3 separate regions of the Homo sapiens genome follow, and regions 2 and 3 are each linked to region 1. Evidence: promoter capture Hi-C in 16 types of primary human blood cells and fetal thymus (Javierre and others, 2016). All regions are on one chromosome and are shown on one strand. The core of a region is centred on a gene start or on the middle of the fragment in contact, and the rest is flanking DNA. Distances in the headings are between cores, read along the strand shown. Region 1 holds the start of RGSL1 (regulator of G protein signaling like 1). Region 2 overlaps RNASEL (ribonuclease L). Region 3 has its middle 7.2 kb from the start of LINC01686.

What was found. The method cuts DNA at HindIII sites, captures the fragments that hold promoters and counts their contacts. A CHiCAGO score of 5 or more calls a contact.
Region 2: a contact is called between a fragment that was not itself captured here and the fragment with the promoter of RGSL1 in region 1, in 4 of 17 cell types (M1 macrophages, M0 macrophages, M2 macrophages and 1 more). The highest score is 13.6, in M1 macrophages.
Region 3: a fragment that was not itself captured here is called in contact with the fragment with the promoter of RGSL1 in region 1 in 1 of 17 cell types (M0 macrophages); the score reaches 5.2 in M0 macrophages.

What each region holds. Positions count from the first base shown.
Region 1 is chr1:182,448,801-182,451,500 of GRCh38, forward strand. RGSL1 (regulator of G protein signaling like 1) reads left to right here and starts at 1,346. Exons shown (of 22, transcript NM_001137669.2): 1 at 1,346-1,378. The coding sequence starts at 1,366. RefSeq lists an enhancer at 1,184-1,791. The HindIII fragment of the contact is 4,233 bases long and covers 599-2,700 here.
Region 2 is chr1:182,583,512-182,586,211 of GRCh38, forward strand. RNASEL (ribonuclease L) reads right to left here. Exons shown (of 7, transcript NM_021133.4): 2 at 1,816-2,700; 3 at 570-655. Among named protein-coding and RNA genes, the nearest start is that of RNASEL, 4.4 kb to the right of the region's middle. The HindIII fragment of the contact is 3,899 bases long and covers 1-2,700 here.
Region 3 is chr1:182,621,013-182,623,712 of GRCh38, forward strand. No RefSeq gene overlaps it. Among named protein-coding and RNA genes, the nearest start is that of LINC01686, 7.2 kb to the left of the region's middle. RefSeq lists an enhancer at 1,806-1,865. The HindIII fragment of the contact is 2,162 bases long and covers 230-2,391 here.

The DNA.
Region 1 (2,700 bases), core at 96-2,595:
TCTTTACTGTTTTTAGAGTGACCCTATTTGGTTGTTAATGGCTCCAACAGTCAGCCTTTTTGAACTGTGGGAAAGACGGTGGGGCAGCAATTAGGACTCAAGGGTAGGTGCACACAGCTTGATTGAAAACAGTCTGAAAGCATTCCATCTTAAGGAATGTGAGCATATATTACTACTGTATATGCCATTATTTTAGGAGGAGACCTTGACTCTATTTATTTTGCAAAAGAGGTGATAATTCAAGGAATAATATGATATTGTAGAATCATGCAGTGCTTCACACTGAACTCTCTTAAGATGTGTGCATGTTAAACTGACTAATTAATAAGGTGAATAAGGTAATTGATAACAGATTGAAGAAGTATGGTAAGCTACAATCTCATCTTGCAATACATAGAACATCAAGATGTAAAGCAAGAATCTCTTCTCACTAAAATCACTTTAAAATGCAGTATTTGGTCTTTATATATTCTAAAGAAAGTACAGCACTTTTTCAAATGTAAGTGATATTGTATTGACGATTCATTATTAACAATAATCCTTCCAGTTTTCAGTTTTCCCTCCACCCCCCATAGGAAAGCCTTTTGGACATTATATAAGCTTCCCTACAATCCCAAGACTTAAAAGCCCTCTCTGGGTGTGACACTGAAGAATTCTATTCTCAGTAATTCTTGGCTAAAGTTTGAAGGATTATAGGGCTTTTGGTCTCTCATCTTAATATTTACTTCCTATTAGGGAAGAACAGGAGAAATGAAGAGTTGTTTAATGAGAAAACCAAGAGCCTGAAGAGTCTTCAGAGGAAGGGAGTTCAAACCTCTTGGAAGCTGATGTTTTAATTTTAATTTTTTAAAGATGAGGTTTCACTCTGTTGCCCAAGCTGAAGTTCAGTGGTGTGATCACAGCTCACAGCAGCCTTGAATTCCTGGGCTGAAGCAATGGAGGTTGATGTTTTAAATGGGCAGAATATCCAGGAGTTACTGCTTATTAAAATTACATCAAATGTAACCGTTTACAAGACCCTTAGGAGCTGAGTTTAGCAATGCAAAAGTCACCCTAGCATGGGAGAGGTTGGAGCAGACAAGAGATCTTGGGCACAATTATAAAGAACTTGTCAAATAAAATAGTATGAACTAAAGGCTTAAGTATAGGAGGAGTCTTGTATGTCCAAGGGGATTCAGCAGATTAGGTAAGATAAAGACTTATCTTCAGATTAAGGCCTACACCAGAGGTAAGTAGATCACTGCCAGATAGAATCTGGAACCCCTTAGAGAAGGTGTCATTACGTGTTCACAATGGATATAGTTCTATTGACTGGGGGGTAATTCTGCCCCTAACAAATTACTGTGTCAGGAAGAGCATGGCAACATGAGCAGTGCTGGTGAGTCTCTGCCAGGGATGTCTCCAAGGCCTTGAGTCTCTCAAATAAGGCAAACCATTCATCTTCCCAATTGTTAATAGATCTGAGCCATTCAGGGGCACCATGGGTGACTTTTGTGTTATTCATGCCTTTGTTTTCCTTCTCTTTCTCCTTCTTCCCCTTCCTCCTACCTTCTGCCACCAGATCTTTGAGGATAGTACAGGGCCTTATTCATAAGACAACTAAGGCAAGAGGGAGGAAGTAAAATGTGGATTGGGCCACCTCTCCTCCAGAGAGAAGACTGGTATGGGGTTTGAGATTATGCAGTGATTTCATTTGTTGCCAAGTCAATATTATTATGGCGTGGAATGGGTGCTAAAAGCCTTCTCAAATTATTAGGAAGTTTGAAGGCAGAACAGGTAAGAAGGAAAAACAAGAATGGAGAAATGAGAGGATGAGGAAGGGAAGGATGTACAGAGCCTTGTCTCTATATCTCCTTAAGACTGTTTTGGCAATGGCAAGCCCTAGCATAGTCAGGCCCCTTGCCACCAGCGGTGTGTGTAGCTGTGAACAACAATCACTAGGGAATTTCTGCCAAACCCCACTTTTCTGTATTCAGATGGGCTCAGTAATATACTCATTCAACAAATCCATGTTAGACTCTATGAATGATAAACAAACAAAAGTCCAAAAGATTGAAAATCATTGGCTGGGAGCGTTGGCTCACCCTTGTAATCCTAGTACTTTGGGAGGCTGAGGCAGGTGGATTACCTGAGGTCAGGAGTTCAAGACCAGCCTGGCCAACATGGTAAAACCCCATCTCTACTGAAAATACAGAAATTAGCCAGGTGTGGTGGCATGCACTGTAATCCCAGCTACTGGAGAGGTTGAGACACAAGAATCACTTGAATCTGGGAGGCAGAGTCTGCAGTGAGTTGAGATCTTGCCACTGCATTCCAGCCTGGGTGACGGAGTGAGACTTTGGCAAAAAAAAAAAAAAAAAAAGATTGAAGATTATCTTTTGAAAGAACAATTTATTCCACATTTACAGAACTTAGACATTGTGCAAACACTTTTAGAGCCTAGAGGAAGAAAGGTGAAAAAACAAAGTCCCTCCTCTCACACGCTCAGTCTGATGAGGAAGACAGATATATCGATGGATAAAAACAGTCAGACTTGTTAATTGTAATAATGGAGGATATACGTGATGGTATAGGGAGATAGTGATGAATTCTACCATTGCAGTAGATTCTACCTTTCTTGGCTCACCAAGATTATATGTAAACCAGTTCTTAATGGATGACTATTAATTTGTGAGCTGACTGTGCTTAAGAAAACATTTG
Region 2 (2,700 bases), core at 176-2,675, 130 kb after region 1:
TACAAAGTATTGTGACTGGGTGTGTCTGTGAGGGTGTTGCCGAAGGAGAGCAACATTTGAGTCAGTGGACTGGGAGAGGCAGACCCACATTCAGTCACGGTGGGCACCATCTAATCAGCTGCCAGCATGGCTAAAATAAAGCAGGCAGAAAATGAAAGAGCAGACAACTTGCTAAGACTTCTGGCCTTCATCTTTCTCCCGTGCTGGATGCTTCCTGCCCTCAAACATCAGTATCCAAGTTCTTCAGCTTATGGAGTTTTGGACTTACACCAGTGGTTTGCCAGGGGCTTTCAGGCCTTTGGCCACAGACTGAAGGCTGCACTGTCGGCTTCCCTACTTTTGAGGTTTTGGTACTCAGACTGACCCATCACTGGCTTCCTTGTTCCTCAACTTGCAGATGGCTTATTATGGGACTTTATGTTGTGACCGTGTGAGTCAATTCTCCTTAATAAACTCCCTTTCATATATACATATGTCCTACTAGTTCTGTCCCTCTAGAGAACCCTGACTACTACATGAAAGAATAAGGAAGCAGAAAGAAGAAAGGTAAACTGGATTGTAGAATTTACCTCTAGATCTCTCTTGACTTCCTGTGGATCTCCAGCCCACTTGATGCTCTTATCAAAATCTGCCAGGTGAGCAGCTTTCTTAGAATCTAAGGAAAAGTTTGCAGAGGCACATTGAAAATACTCATTCTCCATAAAGTGAGAGTCAATTGATTTATATAAATATGTAACATGCTATAAAAATCATCATCTCTGTGGAAGGCAATAATAAACCTTATATCTGTATTTGCCATTCACCCCTCAAAACACTGCCATGTGCACTGTTTCATTTGATCTGTTAGGTATCTGCCAAGAGCAGCACTTACATTTTATTTTTTCCAGGCCAGGGGGTAGGAAGGGATGAGGACAAATTTAACCAGCTCCTCGTTCATGCAATTCCAGGGGCCGAAAGCACAGATTTGTAAAGGAGCTGTTCCCTTACACTGAGCTTAAATCTCAGTGCATGTCTATGGATAAGGTATGTACTCTGCTTAGACCTTTCAGGCAAGAACAGCCTTTCCTGAGCACCTATGATGTACCAAATGACTTACTATTTCATCATTGCACTTAGACCTCATAACAAACTTACGAAGGAGGCATTATCAGCCTCAAGTGAGGAACTGAGGCTCACAGTATCAAGTGACTTGTCTGAGGTTACAAAACTACAAACTAGTGAGACTAGGCTTCAAGCCACCCTAATCATCGCTGAAGCCCTGGCTTGCTCCCCCGCACCATATTGCTTCCTGGGACTTTACGGTCAGCCTTGCTTTTCTTTTAACATTTAAAAGAAAATGCTATTTTCCTTCCCTTTGTTTGGCTTGGACTAGTGGATTCTGACTTGTTCTGCCTTGGAGTCTGTGTCTTCACTACGTCACATCTTGTCCTGACATCCTCAACTTTGACCTCAATTTTGTCAGTAAGTTTCATGGTTACTGCCACCTTGTCTGAAGGAACTCACCTCTAGGATTCTCAGATTTCTGGAGCTACTTTGATCCATGACATGCCTTCATCTGTTTATTTTGCCAATGGCAATCTAAGGCTAGCCTGGTATTCTGTTGGCATCTACCAACCTTCATGTAGACTAACAGAACCCAGTTATAATTGGTAGCAGGAGACACTGCACTGTAATTATGAATTTGTTGTAATAATGATCCACAAATTGAATCATCCACATTTACTCTAGGCCTTTCCTCTCTGCAATGAAAAACTTTTCCTATCATAAACAAAGATCCCACAATTTCTAAGAGAGAATTGGGGATTGGGGACTCACCTATTAAGATGTTTTGTGGTTGCAGATCCTGGTGGGTGTATCCACAGGACAAGTGTAGTTCTTGAACAGCCTTAAATATAGATGACAGGACATTTCGGGCAAATTCATCTTCCTCATTTTCCACATCTTCCCCTCTGTGCACATCCAAACACGCTTCCAGAGTCTGCTCACAGAGGGTGACACACACAAACAAGTGGCCCCTGTGGCTCTCACTCCCATAGAATGTCACCAAGTGACTGTTCTCTCGGCTGCTTTGCAGACAAGAGACTTCCCGCTGTGCACGTGGGCTGCCCTCACAGAACGTCTTCACAGCTACTTCTTGCTTCTCATAGAACCCCAGGTAGATGCCTCCTTCTGAAGTATCAGCAATTTTGTATTTTTCATCAATAAAGAACTTGAGTTTGCCAATCATAGGGCGGTATATTCTGTGGAGATCCTTCAGGGCTGCCCCCCAGTGTGAGCTCTGAGGCTTCCAGTCTTCAGCAGGAGGGTGAAAATCTTCTTTGGCTCCATGAGAGAGAAGAACCTTCACAAGGGAATGGTCATAATTCCGCCTCGCTGTCATAACAAGATCCCCACAATCTGTACTGGCTCCACGTTTGCACAGCAACTCGGCGATTTTCTTCAGTTTGAGTTCAACAGCAAGCAGCAGTGCTGTTTTGCCATCACTGTCTGTGTCATTAATCTCTATGTGCTCTTGCTCCAGAAGCCTCTGCACCAAACCCAAGTGCTTCTTCTCCACTGCCAGGATCAGGGGAGTCTTCCCTCTTTCTCCCCTCACATTGACATCAGCCCCATGGTCCAGCAGCAGATGCGTAATAGCCTCCACATCACTATCGTCAGAGCTCAGGAGAGCATGGATCAAGGCATTTCTGCCCATATTGT
Region 3 (2,700 bases), core at 61-2,560, 170 kb after region 1:
AAATCTGATAGACTTGACAATGTGGAAATGTTATTGAGCCATGTTTCACAGAGCTGTGGGAGCACATGGGAGGGCTTAGTCAGGTGCTGATAGAAAACTAAACAAATAAAAATTAGAGGCAATTACTAACTCCAGGAAAAAAGAAAAACAATATGCAAGAATGTACAGGTAAATAAGATATATTACTTGGCTTAATAGCAAACAATATTTATACAATCACAATAACAAAAGCTTTGTTAACCAGAAATTGGGGGACTAGGGAGCTAGCAGAAAAGAGGAAAATGTACATGATTTTAATATCTTCATTACCATAATAGGAAGTCTATAACTAATGTCTGAAATTAATGACTCAAGAGACAGCCACATACTCTGTGAGTTAGAAATATAGGGGAAGTACCAGATGAATACCTTAACATTGAAAATGGTTTTCACTGGAGAAAGGGAGGTGGAGCAGAGGGGAGATGAATAAGAGATAGTTAATTTTATTATTTTCTTCTACATATACAACTTAAAACCAGTTGCCCAGCAATACTTTTATTTAAAATAAGACTATATTAAATAAATTTTAAAAACAAACACTACTGGTCATGTATGTAAAACAGACACATAAACAAATCGGTGAAGGAAAAAGTTCCAGGTGCTACCTGTGCACAGATAAGGTATGGGCATGAAAGAGAGAGTAGCCAGTTCCATCTTGGAAGAGCCAAGTACCTCCTGACTCCTACTTTCCCTTCTTATCCAGAAACACCGCTGCCTGTGTGCATCTACAGATTTGGCTCTCTTGAGAAAACCTGAGGATTAAGCTAGAAACTCACCAAACACAGATGGAGAGGTGGTGAAGTCTACTGGCCAGGAACTAAGAGCAGAGTGCCAGACCACCTGGGTTTGAATCCTGGCTATGACACTGACTAACTGTGATTTTGGACAAGTTACATACCCTCCTCGCCCTCCTCACATGTTCCTACCTCATAGGGTTATTTCAAGGATTATGTGTTAATGTGTCAAGGGCCCAGAACAATTCTTGGTACATGTAAACATCATGTTCTCTCAGCAGACATGAGATGAACCTGCTGAGTGCAGGCACTGGATAAGCACTGGAGGGCACAAACAACCCTAAGCATGCCCCTGTCCTCCAGGAGATTAAGGAGGGGTGGGGAGTGGTGCAAAAGATACAACTGTAAATAGCATATTATCAGCAATATCGCCTAGGTGGCTAGATGTAGAATGAGGGGGACCAGTTTCCTAGAGAGGTGGCTGTTAAAATTTGCTCCATGAGAGGGTCTGGGAGACACCTTTTGGATTTTGGCCCCAGTACCCCTCTGTAGAAAGTTTCCCTTCCCTTCTTGTGTCCATGTGGTTGCAGCAGAAATGCTGTGCTCTGATAATGTGATCTTGCCTCCTTGACCAGATTGAGCACATTCAAATTAACCTGGGCCAATCCGTCTCTTACCTGGGAATTTTGGACCCCAGGATGAAGGATAGATTGGTTTCCCTCTCAGTGTCTTTTTTTTTTTTTTTTTTTTTTTTTTTTTTTTTTTTTGAGACAGAGTCTGGCTCTTGTCCCCCAGGCTGGAGTGCAATGGTGCGATCTCGGCTCACTGCAACCTCCACCTCCTGGGTTCAAGCGATTCTCCTGCCTCAGCCTCCCAAGTAGCTGGGACTACAGGCGTCCGCCACCATGCCCGGCTAATTTTTTTGTATTTTTAGTAGAGACGGGGTTTCATCATGTTGACCAGGCTGGTCTCGAACTCCTGACCTCGTGATCCGCCCGCCTCGGCCTCCCAAAGTGCTGGGATTACAGGCGTGAGCCACCACACCTGGCCATATCTTTGTGTTAAGACTGATGATGTAAATGTGGGAACTATTGACCATTTTTTGCCATGTGAACTGGTAAACAGAGAACAGTCAGCAAGAAAAGAGAAAGGTAGTACGCAGAGAGAAACTGAAAAGAGGAGGAAAGTCAGGGCTTCTGCATTCCTTAGGGTTCTGCTCACTGTTTCTGCTCACAGATTCCATGGGGTGTTCCAGTATTCTCACCAAAACTCCCTTTTATTCATGCTGGTTTGAGTTGAATTTCTGTTGCAAACCAAAATTTCTCTAATAATAGAAGGGGACTCCCCCACTTCTCCTTCCTGTATAGGCAGCAGAAAAAGAAATCTGACTATATTCCCTGGTCTGGCAAGATGTTCGATAAGTCTAAACCTGGAAAAAAACCCCAAAGAGTCCCTAGGGTTGCATCAAAATATAACCTGGCTCTGGGCCCAGGACAGAGCAGCTCTGGCTTCCTAGCGAAGGGTTAGGACTGTGGGAAGGAATGAAAGGAAGGACCGGAAAGGCTGAGGTCCTGGACTGGAGGGGGAGGTGAGAGCATCTGCAGCTGAGGCGCATTCAAGCTTGAAGTGCAGGGGATGTGGTGGGAGGTCAGGAGAGTGGTATGGGGAGAGGACCAGTAGCCATGGCAACAGGAGGGTCTTCCTTTGCCACTGAGGCAAAGGTGAACTCGGGGGGAGGTAGCCAAGCAAGGTATAGGGAGAGGCCAAGTAAGTGGTGGTCTTTGCCATCCATTGATTGTGTCCTTTCCTGCCCATTGTATGCTGGGCAGCAACATTTTAGGCATGGGAATGAAAGACTCGATTTTTCAGGGACGCGGCTATAGAGGTGAGTCATGGAACTATGGGGTATTCCCATTGTGCTCCCTTA